Linked DNA regions of Homo sapiens: region 1 is linked to region 2. The links are contacts of gene promoters, found by promoter capture Hi-C in human tissues and cell types (Jung and others, 2019). All regions are on one chromosome and are shown on one strand. The core of a region is centred on a gene start or on the middle of the fragment in contact, and the rest is flanking DNA. Distances in the headings are between cores, read along the strand shown. Region 1 has its middle 190 kb from the start of BPNT2. Region 2 holds the start of PENK (proenkephalin).

Evidence for each region. The method cuts DNA at HindIII sites, captures the fragments that hold promoters and counts their contacts. A contact is called where the count stands out against the background at its distance.
Region 1: a fragment that was not itself captured here is called in contact with the fragment with the promoter of PENK in region 2 in 1 of the 25 tissues and cell types used here (H1 embryonic stem cells).

What each region holds. Positions count from the first base shown.
Region 1 is chr8:56,796,178-56,803,221 of GRCh38, reverse strand. No RefSeq gene overlaps it. Among named protein-coding and RNA genes, the nearest start is that of BPNT2, 190 kb to the left of the region's middle. The HindIII fragment of the contact is 6,423 bases long and covers 1-6,008 here.
Region 2 is chr8:56,443,915-56,450,530 of GRCh38, reverse strand. PENK (proenkephalin) reads left to right here and starts at 3,890. Exons shown (of 4, transcript NM_001135690.3): 1 at 3,890-3,962; 2 at 4,050-4,105; 3 at 4,575-4,715. The coding sequence starts at 4,578. It overlaps PENK-AS1 (PENK antisense RNA 1), which reads right to left and starts at 4,724. Exons shown (of 4, transcript NR_125813.1): 1 at 4,031-4,724. RefSeq lists an enhancer at 4,228-5,119. The HindIII fragment of the contact is 6,864 bases long and covers 1-5,696 here.

The DNA.
Region 1 (7,044 bases), core at 1,548-4,047, 350 kb before region 2:
GTTTCATCCATAATACCAAACTTTGAAGAAACAAAACTTACCGAAGCTGATGCACTCATGAATGATAATGTTGGGATTTAAACCTAGGCCTGTCTACCTTTCAAAATCTGCATTCTTTTCAAAATACACTATTATTACCCTTGTCTTATTTCAACTTGTTTAATTATTTTTTATTTTATTTACCTTAGTTGATTATATAAATCTTGAGGGCATATACATTTTATTTTTTCTTCTTACTGCATGAACATAGTACAATCTATGTTCCTAAATAGCTCAATAATAATAAATTAGACAGTTGTTTAGGAAATTATTTAATTTCCATTTTTGAAGTGGCAATATTATATTACAAATCAATTAATTTGCTCGGGGCACACAGTATATTAATGATAGGACTTACCACTAAAGTTCCCAGATACACAATCTTTATACTTTTTGAACTGGATTTTAGGTCTTTGCTTTTTATTCATTTAAGTAGAATTAGGAATGTGGCAGTTCTCTCTGACAAAGAGTCAGATGAGAATGAGCTGAGAGGATAATAAACAAGGACAATAATAGTCATTAAAGAAAATGACTCTCCTGGGAGCTACATGAAGATATATAATATATCTGGAAATCAATCAACAACCATAAGCTACTAAATGGAACAACTCTAACTTTTGCTGAAAAGAAACTGTTTTGTGGTTTAATTTATTGTTCCTGTTACTACTCCTAATGAAATTGTTTTAAAGGACAATACCAGAGTTAGTTTGGAAGAGTTATTTCATTAAGGATGAATTCTTTTAAAATAGGACAGTGAGTGGAAATACTTGAAATAAATCCTTATTCAAATAAAGGATTTTAACTTGCCTCAATATTATAGAGATATTTGTTCCAAATGTGTTTTCATGAAGTCGATCAGACTCCACTTTAATCCATCATACTCTCATGGATTCTTTAAACCAGTCCAGTTTCCTGTTAAGTGGCTAAAAACTGAAAATATAAATGACTAGTTTTGAAGACAACTCCAACAGCCCAGTCTTCAGACAGCAAATACAATGCAACCATTAAGTAAGTAACCCAGGAATGCTCCAAGGCAAAAACTTGTGGAACTTCATGAAATCCTTGTAGATGTGCCTCTTGAAATGAGAAGCTGACTTGTATTATTTGCCAATTTTTGTGGTGTAAATAATCCCATCATGGCCAATTTCAAGCTACTGGCTCACAAAAGCCCTAGAAATTCCTAACATCAACTGGTTCACAAAATTCCTAAATATACGCTGATGGTCTCTCATGGGTCAATGTGAGGTAGCTATTACATACCACTGTCTTCAACTCAAAGGCAAGATAAACTCTTTTCTGACCCATAGCAGGTTCTCTTTAAGAAAATTTCACTGGTCATTTTTGCAGGAATCAGGGACGCAATGTGGCATAAGGCAAGCTCCCTGCCCTCTAAAGGCTTAAAATCTAACTGGGAAGCAGGATTGTCACAAAATATAAATAATGACATGAAACAACAACTACTCTTCCAATAATTGGTATTTAGAAATAAATGCTAATGGATTCTGTAATGTCAACAATTTATAAATAAAATGTGCTTGTATTCTTTAGGATCTTGGTATAGCATCACCTTTGTTTGATTTTTCAAGACTGAATATTTCAAAACAAAAACAAAAGAAAGAAAATCTAAATATAGAATGGAAAAAGTAAATGATCATGTGTTTCTATGCTGGCACAATCTCAATTTTCTGGACAAATGATACATATCTTTAGGATCTTAAGTTCCATATTTGTTCATTTATAAGTTAATTTTTTGAGCTTGTGTATCACAGACAGTTACTGAATGCCGAGCATACAAAGAGAAACCAAGATACGGTTCAGTATTAGTCATCTATTGCTGTTGTAACATATTGCCACAAACTTACTGGCTCAAGACAACAAAAATGTGTTACTTTATAGTTTGAGAAATCAGAAGTCTGAAATGGGTCTCATTGGTCTCATGGGCTAAAATCAAGGCATCAGTAGGACTGCATGCCTTCTGGAAGGTCTAGAGGAGAAGCCCTTTCTTTGCCTTCTCTGGCTTCTAGAGTTCACCTTCACCCTCAGTCTTTGGCTACTGGCTCCCTTCCTCCATCTTCAAAGCCAGCAAACTCTGGCCGAGTCTTTCTCACCTAACATTACTCTGACACTGACTCTTTTGCACTCTTCATCTACTTTCAGGAACCCTTGTGATTACACAGAGCACATTTGCATAATCCAGGATAACCTCCCAATTTTAAGGCCAGATTATTAGTAACCTTAATTCCCTCTGCAATCTTAATTCCCTTTTGCCCTGTAAACAGTTATATTTGCAAGTTCTGGAGATTCGAATGTGAACATCTTTGTGGAGGGCGCACAAAATGCTTATAATACCACAGGTCATTATATTGAAGGAAGTCAAAATATGAGTTTTTGAAGCAGACACATGAGCATCCATTTAATCCCTAAATGTTGCTGATCCCTTACGATCTCATCCACTCACCTGACTTATGCACTCATGCCCTCTCATGGTTTCTGTTACTATCTCTCTGTAGACAACTCCTAATTCTATATAAATTTATCCCCCTAAACATGGACTATACATCCACTTGCCTCTTACCTATACCACACTTATTGTGAACATGACTGAAAGCATTTCCCTCCCAACCCCTTTCCTTCTGTATTCTATGGTTTAGTCTACACCACCACCAGGCACCTTGTGGAAACCTGTGAGTCAGCCTCAATTCTTCCTTTCTCATTGACTCGTCCTAAATAAATCAGCGGTGAACTCTTTTACCTCTATTATTTCTCAAATTACTTTATTTTCCACAGCCACCACAATGCAATATGCAGAAGGCACCACGAAACTCCTTGGAGAATTTCCCCCCAGCACTGTGCCATTTTATGCTCCTCACCTTTGCTCAAGCATCTCCCTGTCGGGAATGGCCTTCCCCTCTCTGCCTGGCTGACTCTGACTCATACCCTGGGCTGGGGTAGGTTTCTCCCTCAAGGCCCTCACAGAATTCACTGTGTCTATACATTGCACATGCCTCCTGGTCCCTAATGACTCCATTGTATATTCCCCTCTTCTAGAACATGAGAAGCTCCTCAAGAACAGGGACTGTCTTAGCCATCACTTTCCCTTTGTCTAGCACAAGCCAAGATGAAAGGCTCTCAATAAACATCTCTTCTAAAAATACTGAATAGATCATAACCAATGTGTAGCGGCCTTAGAATAACTTACAGTTTTGTCTACTTAGATACTATGCTATAAGGATTTAGCATTTCAAAACACAAAAAAGCATTTTGAGCTCACTGGCCATAGTTTAAAAACTGTAAAGTGCTATCAGTAATGAATGCTAATAAGTTCATCCTGAAGGAAGCAGATTTGTTAATAACAATCTAACTATGCATATCATAATTACATCACTTCACAATTTATTTTAAACTCATCTGTCTAGTGACTGGCTTCTATTCAGTGTGTAGAAAGCAAATCCTAAAGCCTAGTGTATATGATAGAGCTGAGATCAGAAGTGGCTCTGAGATAGTGAGCACCAGACTTCTAGCATACTCCCCCACCCCCTGCCACTTTGATCTCAGAGGGTGGGCTGCAATGGAGAAGGCATGCAGGAGACAGAGTGGCTGGGAGGGTGTTATCCATACTCAGCAGAATAAGCTAGACCAGCTGCAGTGTAGAGTTAGGAGTATTAGAGTTAAGGAAGCTGAATAAGGGGAACTAATTCTGAAACTAATTTGTCAAGACCTGGAGGAAAGCATCTTGACTATAAATGTGATTAGGATCTAGAGTGTGTTACCTCAGGAATTTGTCAAATTTTCAGGCCTAGAACTCATGAATATGAACACTAGGCCAGATATATTGGACACTTATATCTGTCTTGCCCAATTTATTTGCCAGCCTGTAGGCAGAGGATTAGGTACAAGAACTTGGTAATGGAATGTTTTGTCAAGACAGAATGCTTCTTGAATTAATTGAGACAGTCAATAATTTTAAACACTTAAAAGTTCTAACAATGTTTTTTCAATGCAGGAATAAGGCATTGAGTTCAGTCTACTAACATTTTGTAACCTTGAATAGGATGATAACTGAAAACCGAGACACAGTAAATTACATTAGGATGGGGAATAATCACCAAGTACACTGTCCTTATTTTCCTCTGCTGGAAATTAAATGATTGCCCTGCCCACAAGTCATATTTTTGTCATTTTAGAACAGATTGTTCATGAAGGCTCAGTATGACAGCTGCATCTGAGAGTCTTTCGCACCCCCAGGAAATGCAATGAAGGATCAGTCCATTTTGCACATTCTCAATCTTGTATTCTACTGCTTTGAGGGACCCTGAGGAAATTCCATTTCCCTTCCCCATTTCTGGATAACACATTAGTAGGTACTTTAATTTCCTCAAGAAATATTCTACCTCTATTGAATTCAACTTTATCTTAGAATGTTAAACATTTTGTATCTACATAGAAGATCACATGATGGGCAATCAGCTTTCTAATATTATAAATCAGTGTCAGATTATTAATAAATAGATAAAATTAAGATGTATTAATAAGAAGACTAAAAAATTACCAAATCAAATACTATTTTCTTTCTTACTGGATTTTGCATTTATTGAGGCAGTCAAGTGGTGTAACTAATGAATTGTTTCTTCTATGTTAACCAAATTAACAAATGTGAAATACTTAGAATGGTGTCCAGCACATAGTAAGCATTATGTAACAATTTCACTACTCATATTATTATTGTTTTTATTATCTTCTTAAAGTAAACATGGGACATTTTCAGTGAAAATCTACTAGTCCTTTAATGAATTCAATAAGAATTTCTTTAGCGTTCTAGGCAAGATGTGGATGGGCAGACAGACTGGCTACTTGCAAGCTTATCACACACACAATATTTCCTACAATTCATTGAACATTCTCTATTTCCAAACATTTGGCTAAGTGTTTTGCTAAGATATTTCACTCATTTAATTCTCATAACCCAAATAAGAAGATTGGCTTTTATTAGCCTTGTTTTACAGAAAAAGAATGTAAGGTATAGAGAAGTAATGTAATATGCACAGTAGTCAGATGAATTTATAAAGCCAAGACCTTCATACTCAAGACCCATGTTTTCAACCAGGACCTCTTTCATATCTCCATGGTTTATATGAACTCATCCTCAAGATGATTTAAAAACATGGTTGTAAGTGGTTAGTCTACTTCTTACAATTCAATACAGCAAATATTGATTGACCATTTACCTTGGCATATCAATAAAATCAATTCTATGTATCATTTCTATCTAGTCTACCCACATATTGGGATCAATATCATCAGGGACATGAAGGATATGTAAGACTGTGCCACCTAGGGAAACTGAGTAAAGTTTTCTTTGAGGCTTGAGTCTCCATACTAGCTGTTAATCTCCCTTTTACAGGCTATCTGTAATTTTTCTCATTCTTGTACCCAAAGCACTCATAATATATGCATGTTTTCAAATTAGTCAGTTACACTATTATATTAATGACTGCTTCACTGACATCTCTTGGTTTATGATATTTAAATAATTATAAGTCATTGGTAAACTTATATTGAACATGTATGAGAAATCCATTTCCAAGGACCAGCATGTTTGTTAAAAATTTCTGAAAGTGAAAAAAAAATTTTCTGAAAGTGGTCAGAGCTCAGCTAGAAAACAATCTAAGAATTACTTAAGAAATAGTGCTGTTCTCAGATGAAGATTATGGCTTTGACTCAGAATGCAGACTCCTGGGAAACGGAGTTAGCCTGTAAAGTTAAGGCACTTGTTGAACAAATGAGCAACAGCTTATTGGTAACCTGGGGCTGAGCATTTGTGTAGTCCCTGTTTCAACCAATGGAGGACTGACTAAGCAACAGATGTGCTTAGAGCTGAGCTATAAAAATGTGTTGTAATTTAGATTGTTCATCTTAATTCTATCTATTATATATAGTATTGTGTTTGGTTCTCGGAAGTACATTTTATGAAGGATATTGGCAAACAAAGATGTGCCCAAAGGCAGATGGCAGGGATCCACGACTCATGTCACACAGAACGAGACTTATTTCCTTGTGTTTGCTTAGCTTGAGGAAGCAAAGAACAGGGGAGCACATCAGCAATATCCAAATATTTGAAGAGTACCTCATTTCATTTTGAGTAACTCCAAGAAGCAAACCAAGACATAGGGAATATTGAGGAAACATTTTTTGATTCAATGTAACAGATGTTGTCACCAGCAATCCAGCTCTCCAATGAAGATGGTAGTGAGTTCCCCGTCATTGGAATAGATAAAGTCATAGGAACACCAAATTCAAAGAATTTTTCTTTCGCTAGTGAGGAAACAGAACCTCAAAATTACATGGCATGCTTAAGAACACAGATGTTGGTGGCAGAGGCAGGACTGTGTCCACAGGTGTTTCTATTCGAAAGCCCTCCCTCTATAGCCAAGTAACAGCAGGGCAATGTTGGATGCCTCTCAGGTCAATATCACAGAAAAGACTGAATTGTTAGAAGGTTGAAATAAATCACCTCCAAGAAGTCTGCCACTTCTCAGGGTCTGTGCTTTTAATTTGAGGGTTATTTGGTTTACATATTTGTTCTTTTAAAGAACAAATTTTGTTATTGTGAGTATCATTTCTGATCTGAGAATGACTCAGTTATTCATGTCACAAAACTAGCAATGTGCTCTAAGAAGCATCATCAATTTCCCTGGGGCAGGTGAACATGGGTAGAGTACAGAGATGTTTCTAGAAGCCTCTATAGAATTCAAACAGAAATGATCCCTTTTCAGGCTACCAAGAGCTCAAAGTGCTATCACTCTCAAGATATTTACTCAGGGATGACATTCTAATGATATAATTTCAGAATAAAGTAAGGAGAGGAAAACAGGGAAAAATGATATTTGTCTAGATTATTTCTGGATCTTAAAATCATATTGTATACCCTTTTTAGAAGATGTAATGATCAGAAAAGCCTTCATCTTCTTCTTCTCACATACTTTCATTACTTTGTAAATACACGTT
Region 2 (6,616 bases), core at 2,641-5,140:
GTGGCTATTAAATTTCTCAAGGCAATTTCAAAAGTCATTATTAAAAGTCGAGCTGCTCAAGACATACTCTATTGGTTGGACTCACAGCTATATCTTATTTTAATCTAATTTTTCATAATAGGACTTGCTTTATTCATTGTCTAATTACCTATACTTAATAGTAAGATTGATCTTTTCCCTCCTGGAGAGCAAAAGGCCAAAGTTAGGAAGTGTGTTTCAATCCTCCCTAAGTTTACAGTACATAAACAATATGTTTGATATTCTTGGTTTAATTTACCTTCCCTTTCTCCCCACCTCCTCTGACACATTGACATGTTTTCTATTATTTAAACTCATTCTATTATTTAATTTATATTATTTAAACTCTTTCTATTATTTAATCTGGCAACTTTGTACCAGATTACCTTTTCTTCCTAGAGTTTTATTCTATTTCCTGGTACATTTTCCAGAATGTTCCAACACTGACTTTCCTTAAAATGGGGTTTGTGACACCATAAAACATCTCGTTCAAGCCAACCCCACTTCCAGCTGCTCTGTTATGGTGTTCTGAGCCAGTCTGAAAAAGAATCCCTTAACAGTGCTACTTCACAGTTATATGCCCAACTCACAGAATCACATTTTGCAAACTGTGCACTTTAGATTGTAACTGAAAACGGGGATGTCTCCCCTGACTCTGGCATGACTCCAAACATCTGAAATGTTAGAACATGTTGCTTTTATGCTGAACCATCACACAATTGCCTGAGTGCTGAAGGGGCTTGTTTCCACTACTGCTACTTTAGAGAGAGGGGGGCAGACAGAAATGGCTTTCTGTAATAAAACACGTGTGCTTGGGTGACAGGAAGGGGAGGGGAGCAGAGGAGTGAGTACCAGAAAGACGTCATTCAATTTAGCCATCTTCCATCTGAAAATAATGGAAGAGGACACTAAAAGAACATTGTAAAATCCCACCTTTTTAGACTCTGAGAACACCTAAGAACTGAGTAAAATGCCATTCATCATCAGGGTTAAAAAGTCAGATTTCTTGGTCTCTAGGATGAATCCCTTTGGGCAAATGCTTGGGACCCTAGGATCAGAAGATGAGTTATTGATCCTAACCTGAAAATAAAAAATGTCTGGATTGAATGCTTTAAGACAGAGCCCCTTCCCTTTTTTAGTCTGATTTCTAGAGCAGCTTTCTCCCAGATCATAACTGCAAAGTCTGTTCACTCTTGATAAATATTTAAAAGATGATGAAAAAATGAATTTCTTACAACTCATTGCCACCAGAATGACTTTTAGTTTCTCAGGTCGATGGGGGAGGATGATGGGAAGAGATGTCACTGATTTGGGGTAGGCAAACAAGGTCGACCTCCTATCACTTCATTCATTCAGTCAGTCAGCCGGTCGACACACATTTACCAAGCAACCACTGTGCCCCAAGCATCTAGGAAGGTCTCGTGGGGGACTGCACACTCTTGCACTGCCCCTAGGAGGCGCCCTCTCTTTCCCTTTCTGTTTCTCTCTCCCCTGACATTTCAGGAGTCTCAGGGGAAAATGCAAATGCGCCAAGAGACCCTAACTCAGAGCAAACATGACTAGTTCCAACAGAAACAAACTAGGCCTGAGGTAGGTTTCGGGAAGGAACTCAGAGGCTGGAAAACCTGGTCTGCCACTGCCCTGGCTGGTCACTCAGACGTTCTGAGCCTTGGTTTTTACCATCTGTAGAACGGGCGGTGGAATAAATTATCCCTAAAACCTCTCCCAAACTTAAGCTTCTACTTTTCCAAGATCCTAACGAGCCTTTGTGTCGCCAGGGTGCAGAAATGCACTGTTTCCACTACTGCGCGCTGTGCACCCTTAAAAAGCATCGCGTGATGTGGTCATTCCAAACACACACACACACACACAAACACACACACACACACACACACACCTACCTCAGCCTCCCGCTCCTGATTATGCGTTTAAAGTTCTTAGGTGATCCCAGGTTCGCAAGTGCTCAGCTATAGCAAGTTTCCTTTAATTTTAGGTAGAATTTGTTCATGCAATACTTTCGCACTGAGTACTGCAGTGGAGTCAGCTTCCTTTCCAAAGCCCAGGCAACAAGGAAAAATCTGAAGTAAAGACAAAAGCTCTCCTTTGCCTTGGGGAGAGAGTAAGGAGCTAGTAAGGGGCCCCATGATGAAAAGAACCTAAAGCGGGAAACATTGTGTTTTCCTGCTCAGAGGGTAATGCTGGCTCCCTAGGGCTATGTCCGGGGTTCTCCAGCCCCACTCCAGGGCTCTGCTTTCCCGACCTTGCTACCGTGATGCCCCGGCCGGGAGGCAGGCGGTGCTCGGGTGCAGCTTCGGGGCTAATCCGAGGGCTGCGTGTCAAGCCCGCACATTGAGGCCTGCGGAGAACTGAGACCCCAGTCCCCGCAAGCCCAGCCTACGCAGGAGAGCGCTGCCCTCTAGCGACTATAATGGGACATGCAGCGCGGCCGGAGCCCCGCGGGAGCAGCGCCGCTGCAGGTCCTAGCGACTGTAGAAATCAGCCCTTTGCAGAGGGCGCAGAGGGCCTGGAAACCTCTGGGACCTTTTCCCAGGAACTGTTTATGGTTTCCCCCTAGGTCTAGGAGACATAGATGCATAGGTGGATTGGATACATCGATGGTAGCTATAAGGTAAGCAGACAATGGTCACAGATGGAAAGGTGGACGGACGGATGACGGATGGTTAGAAGATGTTTTGAGGGCTTGCTATAGTGCCAGGCACAAGGCTAAGAGATTTCGTCCACTATTTCATTTGATTCTCTCCAGAACCTTATGAATGGCATATTACCTCTGTTCCTATTTTTCAAATAGGGAAACTGAGGCCTCAGGCAATGTAAGCAGCTTGCCGCTTAGCAATCTTTTGCAGAGCCAGGAAGCGGGAAAGCGTGTCTTAATGGACAGTACCAGCCTCCACAGTGTGCCCTCGGCCCCCTCCCGGTGGAGAAGAGGTTCCAAGCCCCGGCGTCCCGGGTAGGGTGTCCCTCATCCCTCCCTCCCCACCACACTCCTGGCGCGCTGACATTACACCCGCCCCGGCACCCCCCTCTCACTGATCCAACACCCCCGGACACCCTGGACAGCGCTCTCAAGGCAGTAGGTCTTCGACTTGGGAGCCCCGGGGAGCTGGTTAAACACGGATCCTCTCCCACAGTGGCTGAAAAGCGCGCAGTCCCGGAACCTGAGGGTTTACCTGCTTCTACGCTTGGCCAAGGGTCTCTAACTGGAAAGGTGAAAATTCTGTCCTGAGATTTTAAGATTCCCAGAAACTTTCAATCGTTCAGTTCCTGTAACCATTAATTGAGCGCCTAAACTGCGCACCTTGACGCTGTTAGATGCTGCAGTAAGGAACTCGGAGTCAAGTGTGGGGGACAGGTTGGTCAATAAATGACGACATTCCGGACGGCTGTGCTTGGTGCCCACGGGGACCCGCGAGGGGGCCCAGGGAGGAGGCGGGAAAGGGGCAGGTTCACCGGCCCGCTGGGTCTCCAGCACATTCCAGAAGTCTAAGCCAGTCCATCTATCCTTCCAAACGCCCCCACCTCGCTTCCCTCCCTGGAGCCCGCATCCCACGGTGCAATTTCAGTGACTTTATGCGGAGAAACTTGATCCTATCTCACTCTCCCCAAACTTCCTAACTGCCTTGGGTTTGTCACCTGGCCGTGTGGGGAGCCACCGAGCGCCCCCTGTGGCCCCCACCCGAGCTCGGCGGGGGGAGCGGCGCGCGGGTGCTGGGGGACCGACCCCTCCCGCGAAGGCGTCGGCGCGGGGCTGGCGTAGGGCCTGCGTCAGCTGCAGCCCGCCGGCGATTGGGGCGCGCGCGCCTCCTTCGGTTTGGGGCTAATTATAAAGTGGCTCCAGCAGCCGTTAAGCCCCGGGACGGCGAGGCAGGCGCTCAGAGCCCCGCAGCCTGGCCCGTGACCCCGCAGAGACGCTGAGGACCGCGACGGTGAGGCCCTACGTCCGCCAGCACACCCGGGCCCGCTTCTCCCCGACGCCCGCCCTCCTCACACTTGCCTTCTTCTCTTCCCTCTAGAGTCGTGTCTGAACCCGGCTTTTCCAATTGGCCTGCTCCATCCGAACAGCGTCAACGTGAGTGAATTTGCCCGAAGCTTGTCTTTGCTGAGCGGGTTTGGGGACGTCTGCCCGCCCTCTTTCCCTTCACATTTCATTGCATGGGTTCCCCAACAGCGTTCCCTGGTTCTTCTTTGTGACCCCAGTCAATGTCCTGCCTCCCCCGGCTCCCGCTCTCTCGCCCCTGGTCTGCGGCGTTCTCTCCGGAATCTTGCCCTGGGCCGCGGACGCCCAGGAAAAGAGCCGGGTGCCCCAGGCAGCCTCGCGTTGGGGGCGACCGCGCCATCCCGGGAACCGCGAGGCGATCTGAGTCGCCTCCACGTCTACCTAAAAGCTGTCGGCCGGGAGGGCGGGGCCCCAGAAAGGAGCATTCCTGCGGGCTTTTGCTCGACGATCCCCTGCTGAGGCTGTCGCGGCGAGGGTCCTGCCGAGGGACCCCGTTCTGCGCCCAGGCAGGCTCGAAGCACGCGTCCCTCTCTCCTCGCAGTCCATGGCGCGGTTCCTGACACTTTGCACTTGGCTGCTGTTGCTCGGCCCCGGGCTCCTGGCGACCGTGCGGGCCGAATGCAGCCAGGATTGCGCGACGTGCAGCTACCGCCTAGTGCGCCCGGCCGACATCAACTTCCTGGTGAGTGTTGCGCGCGGCGAGTGTTGCGCACCTTGTGAGACAGAGTTTCCGCAACAGTACGCGGACTGCCTCCGGCCCACCGCGCGGCGCGTATGGCGGTTCGCACCGGGTCGGAGCCGCAGCGGCGCGAGCCCGTGGTGACCTGGGTGTCTCAGCTGTTCCTGGAACACTGACTGAAGTCCTGCCCTGGCTCTTAGCTTCGGGGATCCGCGACTATCTGGGGACCGGTAAGGGTAGCGGTGTCGCCGCACAAACCAAGTTTGTTTTAACCCTGGGAATTCGGGAACCCCGAGAAGTCCTCTGTTCAGCACCTCGGATAGCACTGGGTTCTCTCCTGGGCTGTCAGAAGGAAGATGGCTGTCACCACAACTCCTAACATATCCCAGCTAAGGGCCCCTCCACACGCAGTCATCTTCCCATCTTTCCCACAAATAATGTAATTTTTTGTTAGTGACATTTCGGTGCCTTTCTTTAGATTTATGTTCCCCAGCTCTCTTAACCTCAGGTCCCTCATTCCCTACCCTCACCTGTAAATAGGAGAGAGCAAAGGGATGGAAAAGGGGTACGGGGAGAGGAAGGCGAAATAACCGTAGACAGGAAAGAGTTCAAACTGTCTCACTAGCCAGTGATGCTGGAATTCAACTTCTGTTTCAACTGCCCTTTGTAATAGTAACTAAAACAACAGTTTAATTTGGCTATGAGAAAGGAACAAGAGAAGTGGCCAGTGTCCAATGGGTGACAACAGTCCAAAGATACACTGCACTACAGGGGGTTGGGGAAAGAAAAAGCTGAGGACAAAATAACTTTCATTCTGATCATGGTTCCCCATGGGCTGTCGAATCACCTCTGGTGCTCTACTGAGTCTGAATCTCCAACCTCGAGACTCAGGTAGCTTCACTTTTACCAGCTCCCCTGACAATTCCTTTGCATTGCTTTTGAAATTTGTTGAAATTTTATGGTGACTTAAAAAGCTCATAGAGAATAATGTATTCATCCAAGCTGCTTTGGGTTCCACCTGGAATTGAGGAAATTTTACCTTATGTAGATGTTTGAAATGGGGAGAAAACCAAGGAACAGTTTCCAAATATCTGTGGTATATATTTCAGGTTAAATGTTTGTTTCTTTGACCTGTGCTAACTTGGCATTAAAGAGAAGACACATAGGAAGGTTGTATATTTAAACTATGAGAAAAATGTTTCATCTTCAATAGGAGAAACAATCCCCTTCACCCATCTTTCTTCTTTCTCCTGTAGTCATGAGCTTTTAACCTATGCCTAAAAATTGAGCCAGTGCTACAAATATAAGGATAGATCTTGTGGATAAAGAATTTTAGACACAGAAGGAGGAAGAAAAATCCAAAACATGCCACATAGAAGACTCCACTTTCTGACCCCATAATTCCCTGTGCCCAGTCACACATATTTTGAGCTTTGCCTGCTCAACATGTCAGGGGCTCAGCCCCCTCCCCTAGCTTTCTCTGCCATCTGAATAAAGGTTATATGGATTCTAGTCTAATTTTTCTAATCACACAGACTGACCCCAAAGTAGTATCATATTTACTTAAATTATGTGAGTTAGCGAATTAATATGACTGACTTTTAATCATGCCTATTCAAATGGGTTTTTTTCATACTTAATCTATTTGATTCACCAAGCTCCCAAAATGCTACTAATCTTCCTTTTGCATTGTTGAGGAACTTGAGCAGAGCTCACTGGGTAGCAGCTAGCTCTTCCCTGGGTATCACCTCAAATCTTGACTTCTCTCCCTCTCTCACCCTCTTCTCATCATGTAACAGGATTGTGGGGGAGGAGAAGAGGAAGGCTGCTCTTTCCAGAATTTTCCATACTGCTTTTTATGCTCTTGTTGTTATCACTTATTACTATTATCATTACTTTAATCC